Linked DNA regions of Homo sapiens: region 2 is linked to region 1. Evidence: promoter capture Hi-C in 16 types of primary human blood cells and fetal thymus (Javierre and others, 2016). All regions are on one chromosome and are shown on one strand. Each heading gives the region's core, a stretch centred on a gene start or on the middle of the fragment in contact. The rest is flanking DNA. Distances are from core to core; before and after follow the strand shown. Region 1 holds the start of GOT1 (glutamic-oxaloacetic transaminase 1). Region 2 overlaps EDRF1 (erythroid differentiation regulatory factor 1).

Evidence for each region. Contacts are between HindIII fragments. The CHiCAGO score rates a contact against its expected background, and 5 or more counts as called.
Region 2: a fragment that was not itself captured here is called in contact with the fragment with the promoter of GOT1 in region 1 in 1 of 17 cell types (total CD4 T cells); the score reaches 8.9 in total CD4 T cells.

The regions. Positions count from the first base shown.
Region 1 is chr10:99,424,882-99,432,147 of GRCh38, reverse strand. GOT1 (glutamic-oxaloacetic transaminase 1) reads left to right here and starts at 1,524. Exons shown (of 9, transcript NM_002079.3): 1 at 1,524-1,700. The coding sequence starts at 1,583. It overlaps GOT1-DT (GOT1 divergent transcript), which reads right to left and starts at 1,212. Exons shown (of 5, transcript NR_183993.1): 1 at 883-1,212. RefSeq lists enhancers at 944-1,373, 1,554-1,603, 1,624-1,683. The HindIII fragment of the contact is 734 bases long and covers 1,440-2,173 here.
Region 2 is chr10:125,721,619-125,728,581 of GRCh38, reverse strand. EDRF1 (erythroid differentiation regulatory factor 1) reads right to left here. Exons shown (of 25, transcript NM_001202438.2): 3 at 5,448-5,514; 4 at 4,646-4,771; 5 at 3,140-3,264; 6 at 2,744-2,900. Among named protein-coding and RNA genes, the nearest start is that of EDRF1, 5.4 kb to the right of the region's middle. The HindIII fragment of the contact is 1,424 bases long and covers 3,077-4,500 here.

The DNA of each region.
Region 1 (7,266 bases), core at 275-2,774:
TTGTAAGTGGGAGCTAAACATTGAGAACACATGGACACAAAGAAGAGAACAACAGACACTGGGACCTACTTGAGGCTAGAGGGTGGGAGGAGGGAGAGGATCAGAAAAAATACCTGTCAAGTACTATGCTTACTATCTGGGTGACAAAATAATTTGTACAACAAACCCACATGACAAGCAATTTATCTATAAAACAAACCTGTGCATGTATCCCGAACCTAAAATAAAAGTAAAAAAAAAAAAAAAAGCAGTTTACCATCTATGAAGGGTGTGGCAGATATGCAATGTTAATAATAGCTGACATTTAGAGAGTCCTTCTTACATGCAACTAACCACTTCGTAAATGTATTAACTCACAAACTCCCCACACCAACTCTGAGGAAAATACTATTATTTCCACAGAGCAGGAACTTCCACAGAGAGGTTAAAATAACTTGACTAAACCTGCCCAAATTCGTAAGCGGCAGCCAGAATCTAAACCTAGATAGTCCGGTCCCGGAGATAGGTTTTTAACCACAAAGGCATTTTCTAAAATTGTGAAAGTACAGAAGCACAGGAAAGAGACATTTTGGCCAGATAAGGGTTAAGGGAAGGCTTCATGGATGAAGTGGCATTCGCTCTGGGTCTTGAAGGTCAGCAGATGGAGAGGGCTCCTGGGGAGGAAGGACTCTAACGGGGAAGGAACAGCCTGACGAAGAGGAACTTTGGGTACCAGCCAGCTGACGACAGCAAGATCTGGTCCGGTGCGCGCGGGAGGAAGCTGGGAAGGGACGTCGCGCCCAGATCCCGAGGTCCTTGAGGACCAGGCCCTCTCTGCAAGGAATCGGGGAGGAAAATCTCAAACTATTAATAGAAGAGCGGCAAAAAGGAATTCGTGCGCACCCCTCTCTGTTGGAAGGACCTTCCCTGCCAGAGACCAAGGCTGGCAGGACAGGTATACTTCCCTCAGGGGGAAACAGCCGACAAAGGTGGTCAAGGTCGCCCGCGCAGGCTCCGGAGCTGCACGTCCTGGACGAACACTCCCGTCCCGAGCACAGACGCTGGGTATTTGGCTGCCAGCCCGGGCCCGCCAGGCCGGGCCTGGCACCGCCAACACCTGCTCGGCGGGAACAGGAAGACCTGTGTTCGGGAACTCCCTCCGGCCACCTCCCCGTATCCTCCTGGCCCTCGAAGGTCGAAAGGTGGCCTCTCAGGGACACCCGCCGCTCGCTCGGCTCCTCCCCTCAGCCGGGAGACCCAAGGAATAACAGCCTCTGCGATAGGAGCACGCTCTACCAATCAACCGTAGTCTTCGCCCACGCCTCAGCCGGAGGAAATTGCATTGGTTGCATCATTCTCGGCAGCCGATAAATTGTTTTCTTGGATTGGCTAATAGCGTTCCTTCTCCCCTGTGCCTTCGTCGTCAGAAGCTGGCGATTGGTTAATCGCGTTGCCAAGCTTTGGACGCGGCTCGACCATTGGAGGCCGCGGGCCCGCCCCCGCCGGCTAGGTGAAGGTGAGTGTCTCCTCCAGTCGCAACGGCCAGACCTGACCTGCCAGCTCCGGGCGTGGGGTGAAATCTCTTGATTCCTAGTCTCTCGATATGGCACCTCCGTCAGTCTTTGCCGAGGTTCCGCAGGCCCAGCCTGTCCTGGTCTTCAAGCTCACTGCCGACTTCAGGGAGGATCCGGACCCCCGCAAGGTCAACCTGGGAGTGGGAGGTAAGGATGTAGTGCTCTGGAGTGTGAGCAGCTCGGGGAGTGGAGCGGACCCAACCCAGGTCGTGGAGACTGTGGGAGAAGCCGAGGCCCAGTGTGGCGCTGCCTGAAGAGGGCGGCGCCGGAGAGGAGGCTGGATCCACGAAGGCTTCCTAAAACCTGCCCATTTTACAGATGCAGGTGTGGAGTCCCTGGAAAGGGGCGATGTGTCCGAGGCCGCACAAACCAGGTGTAGCAGCCAAGACACAAACTCAGTCTTTCCGATTCCCCATTCTGCCTTCTTTATACTGCATCCTCCTAAGAAATGAGGCTGCCGGAGCTTGTAGAGAGAGGTAGAAAAATAGGAAGCCTGATAGGCTTAGGGTTCTGGTTGCTAGGAAATGGGTAAAGGAGAACTTTTAACGCTAGAAAGCTCTGTTCTGAGTCGGTAAATATTTGAGTGACCACCGAGTATCAATCAGCCACCTTATTAAGCTTTGTAGGGGGAGACTGAGGCTTGATTTTGCCCTTAAGGATTTAAAAATCTGCTGGTGTTACACAATGCTTTGAGACAGGTTAATGCTGCCCCCGGGGGGTCTGGGGAGATGGTTCTGGCCGTCACAGATGTGGTAGGAATGGGTAGAGATGGTGGAAAGGAGTGGAGAGAAGTATGGATGGTAGAAGCTTACTTTCCACACATCCTATCTTCATTTCTTGATTCAAGTGATTCTCTTCTGTACCTTGGACAGCTCAGAGCATGGGCCTCAGTTTCCCCATCTGCCAAGAAGATTTATATTGGAGTGCCTCTCAAATTTTTTACCCCTAACCCTCTCTGATGAATTTGTTATTCTTCTCACTATCATTTGGATGTTTGAAGCCCCACAGACACTTATTTTCTCCATTTGGATTTTGCCACGTGCAAAGACCAGCCAGAGAGATGAAAATGGGTAGGATAAAGTCTTATGCTAGGTAATAGACTTAGAATAAAAGGACTAGAAATTGTGGAAAGAGAAGGTGGAATCATTTTGTAGCAGAGTGTGACATGAAGGACGCTCAGAATCAGGTTTCTCATAGATAACGTTTTGTCTGTGCATAGCATTTGTTAAAAAAAAAAAAAAAAAGTCGGCCGGGCGCGGTGGCTCAGGCCTGTAATCCCAGCACTTTGGGAGGCTGAGACGGGCGGATCACGAGGTCAGGAGATGAGACCATCGTGGCTAACACGGTGAAACCCCATCTCTACTAAAAATACAAAAAAGTATCCGGGCGTGGTGTTGGCCGCCTATAGTCCCAGGTACTCGGGAGGCTGAGGCAGAAGAATTGCTTAAACCCGGGAGACGGAGGTTGCAGTGAGCCGAGATCGTGCCATTGCACTCCAGGCTGGGCGACAGAGCGAGACTCTTTCTCAAAAAAAAAAAAAAGTCTTCACTAAGGAGTATGGGGAGGGGTAAGGAAAAATCCATTGAAAAGTGATGGTTTGTTGAAGCGGGTAATTTGTTGAAGCTGGATGATGGGTACATGGGCATACGTTATATTATTCTCTCAGCTTTTGTATAGGTTTGAAATTTTTCATCATAAAGCTTTTAAGATAAGTCAGTACTACATAGTTTGGCCCATTGAGGGAAAATGATGTTTTTAGCAGGCAACTGAGTGGGAGAAATGTTGAAAGATTGCCTCAAATTGAATTTGAATGGACACCATTTGGTCTCTTAATTTAAAACCAGTCCAAAACCTCCAAGCGTTTCTTTGCAGCGGGATGTATACAAAGAACTAGTATTACTGTCAATCTAAATACATCTTTTTAAAACGTCAGATTTTGCCTGCCACGGTGGCTCACGCCTGTAATCCCAGCACTTTGGGAGGCCAAGGCAGGTGGATCACCTGAGGTCAGGAGTTCGAGACCAGCCTGGCTAACATGGTGAAACCCCATCTTTACTAAAAATACAAAAATTAGCCAGACGTGGTGGTGCACACTGGTAGTCACAGCTACTTGGGAGGCTGAAGCAGGAGAATCGCTTGAACCTGGGAGGTGGCGGTTGCAGTGAGCCAAGATCACGCCATTGTACTCCAGCCTGGGTAACAGAGTGAGACTCCGTCTCAAGAAAGAAAGAAAAAAAAAAACAAAAAACCACGTCAGATTTATTTTATTAATTCAATTTACCTTTGAACTATCTTACAGGGTTTCTGTGAGGATTAAGTACATTTAAAGTGTTTATAGCTGTATTTGGCACATAAGTAGGATTTATATAAGTGTTAGGTATTACTGTTATTGTTGTTTTGGCATTTCTTTGAGTGATTCTCATAAAAGATATTGAATAAAAATTTTCAGTTCAAGAACTGCAAAATGAACTAATTTATGACCTTGGTTCAGAAATAAACTGCTCCTGCAGAGAAAAAGCACCCCGACAGCACAGGCCAGAAGCAATGGACTCAGAATTGGAGTCATTGACTCAGACGGCCACCTCAGCTGTGAAGGTGCCTTTGTCATGTTTTCCAGGAACTCCAACTCCTTACCATGAGCAAATTATTTATGCATGTAATCTCACTGAATGCTCACAACTCTGGAGGGTGGTTTATTACTATTACTGTTTAGAGGCAAGGAAGCCGAAGACTGGAGAGGTGAAGCAATTTGCCCCAGGTCATTTGACCACTGGGTGGTAGAGCTGGGAATCCAGGCCAGGTCTCTCAGGCCTCAGAGTCTCTGCCCACACCTGTATTTCAGGTACCTCCAGGTGGTAGCCAGTACACTGTAGTGGGAAGAGCCAGGAGACCTAGGTACAGGCCCAGCACCGTGGTCCAGCCATGTGACTTGGAAGGGTTGTTTAACATCCCTGGGGCTCATCTGTTAAATGAGGAGCCAAGATTGAATGACCTCTCTCCCAAATTCTACTCTTAAGATTCTACTGGGCCAGGCATGGTGGCTCACGCCTGTAATCCCAACGCTTTGGGAGGCCGAGGCGGGCGGATCACGAGGTCAGGAGATTGAGACCATCCTGGCTAACACGGTGAAACCCCGTCTCTACTAAAAATACAAAAAAATTAGCAGGGCGTGGTGGCGGGCGCCTGCAGTCCCAGCTACACGGGAGGCTGAGGCAGGAGAATGGCGTGAACCCAGGAGGCGGAGCTTGCAGTGAGCTGAGATCGCGCCACTGCACTCCAGCCTGGGCAACAGAGTGAGACTCCGTCTCAAAAATAAATAAATAAATAAATAAATAAAAAAGATTCTACTGTACTAAAAGTCAACTCCACAATTCACTAGCACATTCTATGACTGTAGCGTAGGATAATAATTTTACTGGCCTCATCAGTTGTCTGAGGATTAAATGAATAATTATATGTGAAATGTGATATATAAATGAAAAGTGTCATATATAAGTGTTATTTTTGATCATCACTGTGACCCGTCTTTTTGTGGATAGCAGGTGTTTGGATAAGGATCTAATTAGAGTAGAATAAAAGGTCTCCTTCCAGCCGTTATATGTCCTAGTCTTATTTATACACATCCCCAAGTATACCCCTTGTGAAGAAAATGTAATTAATCATTGACCTTAGGGAAGATACTTTTTTTCCCCCAAGTTAATATAAAACCTAATGGAGGTTATCTAGTTAATGTTCCAGTGATTTTGGACACGTTTAGAATAAACTGCACCTGTAATCTCAGACAGTTCCTACTTGCAGCTAGTTTCCTCAGTTTTTCTTCTTGCTGTGATGATTTAAATAATTTCCTTATAGGTAAACAGAGGAGAGTATCACATTTTCCACTGCTAAGCACAATGCTTTCTAAGTTGATCATTTTAGTGCTTCTCAAAGCTTCAGACTGAAGTGGTTTTAAGGACATGGGAAATGGATCCAACCTGGTGCAACCTGTAGCAAGAAGTTTCTTCAAAGACTCCAGTCCATTTTTTCATGTGAGCCTAGCTTTCTTTTGGCCCAGATAAACTCTGCTAGCTTTAATATTTCTTATTTTCAACATGGTTTCCTAGCATCTTCAAATAAAATAGTTGGGAAAATATGCTTTATCAGATGTTTCTGAGTACCCCTAGCCTTCTCCCCAGTATCCTAATAGGCTCTTGAGTGGGGATAGGTGAGGGAAGTGGCGATCTTAGGAGGAAGATGAGGGTGATGGTTTGACCATTTAAATCTGTGTTCTTTCTTCCTTTCCTTCTGCAAAGCAAGACTGCTGGGCCCACCTGTAGACTGTGTGACTCCCCTAAAAGGGTTTATGTCCAGGAAGAAGAGCAGTGGGGCATGGAGCTGGGGAGCATGCTGATAAAAAGGCCCCTGACATGGTCCCAGGGGCCTGCTTGCTTCAGGCTTTCTCTAGACATCTCTTGCTTTTAAAAAAGCACATGGATCCATGAACTTAATAGTATGACAGCCTAGCTCTTGTTATCTCTGTGATCCTGGGCAAATGGTTTGACTTTTCTGGCTGCAGCAGCCAGATCCTTAAAATAGACATCACAATATCTATTTTGTGGGTTGCTATCCAAATTAAATGAGAGTAAAGAAATGTATTTAGTGCAGTACCTTGTATGTACAAAGTATTTAGTAAATCCGTGTTGTTATTTCTCTGCCCTCAGGTTCCGTCAATGTCTTTCTCCATGCCCCAGACCTCATCTCTGAATGTCAGGCCTACAGTGGACACATCCTACAACTCCCTCAAATTCAGCATGTTCAAAGCACAGCTCATCATTTCCACCTTCCCCTTGATCTTTTCTTCTATCTTCCCCTTGTGTTCTAGGTCTTGGTCGACCCCACTACCACCATCCACTCATTATCCAGACTTGAGGGAGACCTTGGAGTCAACAGCAGCCCTTTCCCCAATCCCCTGTCTTTTTATTTGGTCAATAGGTTCTGTCTTTTCTACCTCGAATCTATTTCCAATGGCACCCCTTTTCTTCATCCCTGCTGCCATTGTGTGAATTCAAGGCCTCATTATTTCGCTTCTGGAATATTGCAGTAGCTTTCTACTCCTTCTACTTCTAGTAACTCACCCTTCTTAACTACTGTCTCTGTCCTTCTCTCTGGTTTATTTTCTGTGGTGTCACTCAAATGATCCCATTAAAATGTGCAGCTGCTCATGTTACTCTCTTGCTTAAATGCTTTCAGTGGTTACCCATTGAAACTGAAGTTCCCTAAAAGAGACTCCAGGATTCTTTTAGCCACTCCCAGCTAATCCTTAGTGGATTCCACATCAGAGTCATGAAAATGCAGATCCTCAAAGACCTCATGCTCCCCAGGCCTCTGGGGCCTTGCACAGGTGTGCCCTCTCGCATGCCCTTCTTCCCTTGTTTACCTTTTAAACTCTTATTCATCTTTCATTCTTCATTCTCTGTAAAATCTTCTCTGATTCCTCAAATTAGAATTAAAGGCTCTATCTATGCTCTGTGTTTCTTGGAGGGCAGATGGGATCTTATTTTATCAATCTCTATAGCTTCTACTAGCCAGTGCCTGGCTCATGGTGAGACTTAGTAAGTACTTGTTATGTGAGCGAGTGAATGAAAGAGTGAATGAGAAACTCAAGGGTCCAACAAATAGGAATAAAAATTCTTGGGGACAGCAGGAATAGTGGTTGTTGTTAATGCCTGACCCC
Region 2 (6,963 bases), core at 2,539-5,038, about 26 Mb before region 1:
AGTTCGAATCCAGCCTGGACAACATAATGAGAGTCTGTCTCTTAAAAAAAAGAAACCCTAAGAAATCTTACTCAGCCACAGTTTGAGATACTCATTATCTTAACAGTCTCCAGTTTAGCATTTCCTGATGAGTGTTTCACAGAACACTAGTTCCTGGGAAACTGAATGAAAATTTTCCAGAGTCAGGTTTGAAAGATGACGTTTACCAGGTACTCACTTTTGTGGAGTAACAATATTTATTGATATTAAAACAATAAATATATAATAAGTAATCCTGCAATAGAAAAATCTACTTTATCTTTGTAAAAACCAATGTTTCCCAAATGTATTTAATCTCAGAACACTTTTTGTTCTTAAGATATTCTCTGGAATACTTTTTTTTTTTTTTTTGAGACAGAGTTGCCCAGGCCAGAGTGCAGTGACATGATCTCAGCTCACTGCAACCTCCGCCTCCTGGGTTCAAGCAATTCTCCTACCTCAGCCTCCCGAGTAGCTGGGATTACAGGCACGTGCCACCATGCCCGGCTAATTTTTTTTTCTTTTTTTAAATAGAGATGGGGTTTCGCCATGTTGGCCAGGCTGGTCTCTAACTCCGGGCCTCAAGTGATCCACCCACCTCGGCCTCCCAAAGTGCTGGGATTACAGGCATAAGCCACTGCGCCCAGCCTGGAATGCATTTTGGAATACACTTGGGCCCTCTTGACACTGGGTAAACTCAGCCTACCACTCAATTTTCCAATCATTAGGAAAGTAGTACTGCCATTAAGAAATACTACTTTAAGCTTTTAATGTCATTGCCTCAACAGAACCCAAGACAGGCATGCGTGTGTTGCTTATTCCACAAACATCTGTCTTACTTGTCATCTGTGTGTGCCAGTAGGCTTGGCACCTGCTTGGGAAGAGTGTGTGACTATAAGCACAGGTGGCTCTCTAGCACTTCTATTGTGCCTTGTCCTCTCCCTCAGGAGTCCTAAGAGAACTTTAAACTCTTTTTTATTTTATTATTTGTTTACACAGACAAGTTATCAACTCATGAACCGATTCTCAAAACAGTTTGCCAGGCAGTTGCTTTAGTCAGAGTATGAGCTCTAGGTTACAACGTTCTCAATAAATGTCTGGCTCTAGGACCATCCCACAGTCACCTATTTAACCTCTATAACTGCTTAACAAAGGCCTCAAGCCAGCAGTTTTAGTTTTTGGAACAAGAATTTGTGCAGAGATAGCTTGCAAATATAAACAAATCTCTAAAGCTGAAATTTAAGCAATATAAGAAAAGTACTCTGTAAGAGACTCTTAAGGCAGGCTAGCTGTGCCTAGGGATACACCACTACTACGATGATCTGACTGTTAGTAGGGCCTTGCTGTGTGTGGAGTACACGGACACAGTGGAGTACTGCTGGAGGAACAGGCCTCTGCAGGCAGAAAGATCTGGGTTTAAGCCCTAGCCTGAGAGTTTCGCCAGCTGTATGACCATGTGAAACATCTTTTGATGAGCGTTAGTTTACTTATTTGTACAATACGCAGCTCCAAGAATGAAAAAAAAAACCTTGTACAAACATACACATGGCATAAGAGCTATTCAGTAAATGCCAGCTTGCTTCCTCAACACGCAAGTCTACAGATTCCCGACTCTCCAAGAGTTTTCACAGTAATTCCTAAACAAGGTAAAGACAGAACAACACTGGGAGATGGGTGACATGGGTAATAGGAGGGTAGTATTTGTATTATGTAGTCTTTTCTCCCTTCTGAATCATAGAACATCCCTACTTCTTGGTTGTTACCACTATGTGACTTGCATATTAATTACTTCCTTTTCCTTACATTTTTCTCACTTTTGAAAGAAATTTAAATTCATTATGGAGTTTTATGGGATGCTTTCTCTATCTTAAACCTACTGAAACTAAAATCGAGTTAAATGTATCTGCTCCCTGTAATTTGTGAAGATTGAAACAATCTGGTTGAATAGTGCTCAATATGTGGGAACACAACAGCAAGAGGGAAGACGTAACTTATCAAGTCACAGATCTTATTATCTATTTATCAATCTATTTTCCTGAAAATAGACATGTCACAATTTACATCTATGGCTTTATTTTATTCTTTGATAGATACAGTAAGTACAAAAATAAACAAGCATTAGGAAGAAACAAGGATGTAAGAGATAAAATGGACAACCTAGTTCATTCTCTTTTCTAAAACTTTTATAACATGAATGTGGACTAAGTTTCAGGAATTTTATCTGGAAAACCTTAAAGGGATATTTTAGGTCTAACAATCTGACTGAAAGTTATGGTAAAAAGGTTAGAACTTAAATTACAAATGGGTCTCTGAGTCTCAATATTTGGTAGGAAATGTCTATCAAATATTGACAGATATTTATAGTTAAAATAGTATTTATAGTTAAAAATGACTAGTATTTATAATTAAAATATACTATATCTCTATATAATACTCATCACTTGAAGGAGATAATCAGTATTAATAAACATATCAGTCAACTATTATATTTCGATTTAATAAAAAAATCTGATCTCCCCACCTATAATAGCTCTTGTAAATTCTATTGCGAAAAACTAAAAAGTATTTCTCCAATTCCATAAATTGACAGAAGTCTTTTTTCCCCCATTCCATAAGCTGACAGAATATTTCTTAGTCCTGTTCATCTTTTTTTTTTTTTAACGAGATGTTAAAAAAGGCTTTGTTTTCCTATGTGAGTTTCTAGAATTAGCATTTAAGTACTAACCTGACTGGAAGCACTGGGATCTTCAGAAACTGAAGAAGGCATTTCGAAGGGAGCAGGCCATGAAGCCCCTTCCGAATCATTTGTCTGATCTGAACTGGACGATTCCTGCTGTTCTGCGGTGGATGAGACAGGCTGAGCGGCTCCATCACCATTGATACTGGCCAAACCAGAAATAAAAAAGGATTGCTGTTACTAAAGTTAACTTCATGCAACAGTCTACCCGTTTATAAAAACTACAATCTGTAATTAAGCATACATCTTGTAAAAAAGAAATATGAAACAAATGTTAACAGTATCACAGGGGCAAAACTTAAATTATAACTTCATTAAGCTTCACACTAAATTTTAGATCAGAATTCCCTTTTTCTCTTTAGAGATAAATAAGTAGCCAAGTACCTGTAATATAAAAACTTGGAAAGAATTGCCTTTTGATACCAGTGCTCTTTGCTCTTTTTCTTCCTCTGCCACTTCTGATCAATGAGTCTTTGATAAAACTCTTTCAACCATGTCCAGTCACCAGTCTGGATAACATGAGATACATATTATTAATACAACACACATAGTCGAAACAATGTTACCTAGTACTAGCTTACAGAAAAGGCTCCTATTATTTTTTGAATAGTTTCATAAACACATACTCATTAAAAACATATCTTTCTGGGTCAATTCATACCACCTTTCTTTTGTTTTTTGTTTCCTAAAGGAAACCCGTCTTCCTCCTCCTAAGCCAGGCTGGGAGAGGTGAGTCTTCTCTATAACATGTTCCTTAGCAGCTGCAGTAGTTCCCACTTTGCACACTATATTGAAATGATCTGTGTATGTGTTTATAACCCCAAACAATGAACTGCTGAGGAGCAAGGCCTGTGATTTGTTCACTGTCACATCCCCGTGCCTAGGCTCATACTCACATGATGAACTAAACGGTGGTCTTTTCAAAGGAAAAAAGCACTTATTTTAAATGTCATTTACCTCACCATAATTTAATTTTCTTTATCAAAGCACTGTAGTAATATTCTTTAAAGACTGACCATGAACTATTTCTTGCCAGCCCAAGAAAAGTACAGATATGGAGGGTAGTTCTTGAGAAACTGCAACAATGTTATTATGTTTTTCAAAAGTATCCATTCTCAACATGTGGGAAAAACAGTCCTTACCAACATACAATTTGAGAATCTAGGCTAAAGAGCATCAATTAATTCTAATAACTACAGCCATGTGTCATTTAACAATGGGGATATATTCTGAGAAGCGCGTCATTAGGTGATTTTGTCCTGGTGTGAACATCGCAGAGTGTTACTTATAGAAACCTGGATGGTACAGCCTACTCCCTACCTAGGTCATACGGTATAGCCTATTGCTCCCAGGCTACAAATCTGTACATGTGACTGAAGTATTTGTGTATCTGAACACTGCAAATACAGTAAAAATACAGTATATTATAATCTTATGGGACCACCGGTATATGCAGTCCATCGCTGACTGAAACGTCATTATGGGAACATGACTGTATTTATTCATAGGAACAGCTTCTAATATTTTTCACATTTTCCAGTAGCTGTGTTTCCTGAGAATCTGTTTAAGGGAGACGTTAAAGGATTCTTAAAAATATTAAACTAGTCCCTTAAATTTCACAGTTTTTTTCACAACTTTCTTCATTGGCTTCATCTTTTTTCTTGTAAAAAAGAATCTGGCTGTTGGAATCAATAAAATAATTTTCTTCACCATTCTCATTCTCTTCTTTTTTCTTCATTCAAGCTTTTCTATCTTCAGTGAAACTTTCAATTTCTCGATTGTTGAAGTACTCAACTACATTTCCACTTTGGCCATTCTCTGAAACAAAATCGTATTTCTAGTGCTCTTAAGCTGTTAATGTTTTGTTGGATTTTTTCACAAAAGCATTACCTGAGACGATCTCATAAAGAGTTCTTGAATATCTAGCTCATCTAGTAAGAGAGTCCTTCCTATGCGGTGTACTGCCATGCTCACGTGCGACTTGCTGTAGGGAATTTTCAGGAGTTTTTTTATGTTCTTAAAAAATTAAGAGAAAAAATAGTTTAGAAAGACTGTTTTAGTGTGATTTGGAATCTTTTAAATTTTAGCTTCATTCATTTTAAAGCATAATAAACCTTATTTCCTTAAGGTTATACAAATAGAACTTTAAACAAAAAGCTACATGCAAACACACAGAGGACGGAGCTTTCAAACCAGAATCACGTACACTTTATGAGTCACATTATGTTAGTGACAGTCAAACATTTATTTTTACATGATAGGATTTCTTAAAGTTAAGGGTGTATACGTCACACTGTTATGCTGACCCAGGCTTTTAGCATATCAGATCAAAGCCACTAAGGATCCAATAGATTTTACTAGAAATATCATTTGTAACTCAACTGGTAACATATACAGAATAATCCCAAACACTATTATCAGTTTCAATTACTATCATTAAAATATAACCATCAATATATTATTACCACTGCCAGTGTTTGGGGATTGATTATTCCTTCCTCTTTAAATACAAATGTGGTAAACAATGATACTTTAACAACAAAAAAGATACTCAATAATCAGGTAAGTTTTATCTTATTTCATCACTAATTTCTCAAGACTTGCACATTTATATTATGCAAAACACAGCATGATATAAAACACCTATCACAAAACACCTCCAAAATTACATTAAGCGACAAATAACACTTACTTCAGAGTCAGAGACAACATCCACATCATTTCCCACTGAATCAATAAAGTCATATGCCATGCCAAAGCTACCAAAGAGAAAAAAGGACACAGGTTATGAGGTCATGCTCATAATCATGCAAGTAGAGCTTAATAACAATACTGTAGCTCATTGCTTCTAGGATACACATTTTCCACATTTTAACAACTCTGAAACCAGGATGTGTATCACCATCACAGTTGGCAAGTTTTTTTTTCTTAGTGGTACTAAAATAATGGTGTGTCTTAAAGTCAATGGCATCTTAGATTTGATAAAACATGGTAATAATCATTAGAAGCATCCAGTAGGAAATATTTAGAATAAAAACAATTATTCTTTATTTTTGTAATCACAAAACTCAAAGTCTCCAAGGGAAAATAGTTCAAAACTTTATTCTTTTTAGGTGGAGAGATAAGAAAAACAGAAACAGAAACATTTATCAGGATTTTACTTTCTGAGATTGTGTTTCTAGTGATATACAATACCTCTTAAAAAAATACATGAAAAAAATGTACCTGACACCAATTCAGCCACAAAAGGAAATTAAAAAAAAATGTTAATTGAGCAGCCAACTGATGCCACGTACCACCTGAAGCACATCTATAGTCTATAAGCCTGAAAGGTACCCGACATCACCATGTTCCAACTACTAAATGGCAGAGTCAGGACACTTACCAAGGACTACCTAACAGCAAAGCATGCTTTGTGATTTACTGTATGCTTGAGCCAAATTATTTAGCTCTTCTCAGCTTCCGTTTTCTCAGGTGCAATATAATTAACAGTGCCTATCTCAAAGAGTTGTTGTGAGAATTAAATGAGATAAGCATATAAATACTTGCCACAGCATTTGTATAGAGTCAATATAATTATTCAAATTTCCTCACAACATTTAATTATGTTGACAAATCACAACTGATTAAGCCATTCTTTTAAAAAATGATATTTGGGTTATTCCCAACTTTTTGCTCCTATAAATGATGCTACAAACAAACAGCATTTTTGCAAATATAACTTTTATTTTCTGAGGCTTTAGGATAATTTCCAAAATACCAGCTCATAAAGTATTAGTGTATTTGTGCCTCTTGCTACAAGTTACATGGAAATATTTTAGATTGAGTTGCTGAGAAGGGGGAAGAAGAAAAGAGAACCCTACACATTAAATGTCCTACAGTATGTACATTAATACATTTTTCTCTATAAGACCTCAGGCTACTCTCTCAACTTTGAACACCATCAGTTCTGGTGTCAAAGTCAAGGTGTAGGTCACCCAACATGCTGGGTTTTTAAATCTGGCTTTTCCAGATCAACCTGCCACCATTTAATGAAAAACTCCACAGGAAAGATGAAGGAATGTTCAAGGTTTTCCTCCTCATGCACCAAGCTGATCCTTTGTATTCACATATCCAAAAGGTATGCAAATTGGCTAAAATGAAAGGGCTGATTGAACTTTGGCAGTCAAAACTCATCTTTGCTGATAACATGACGTAGACTTAAAAGA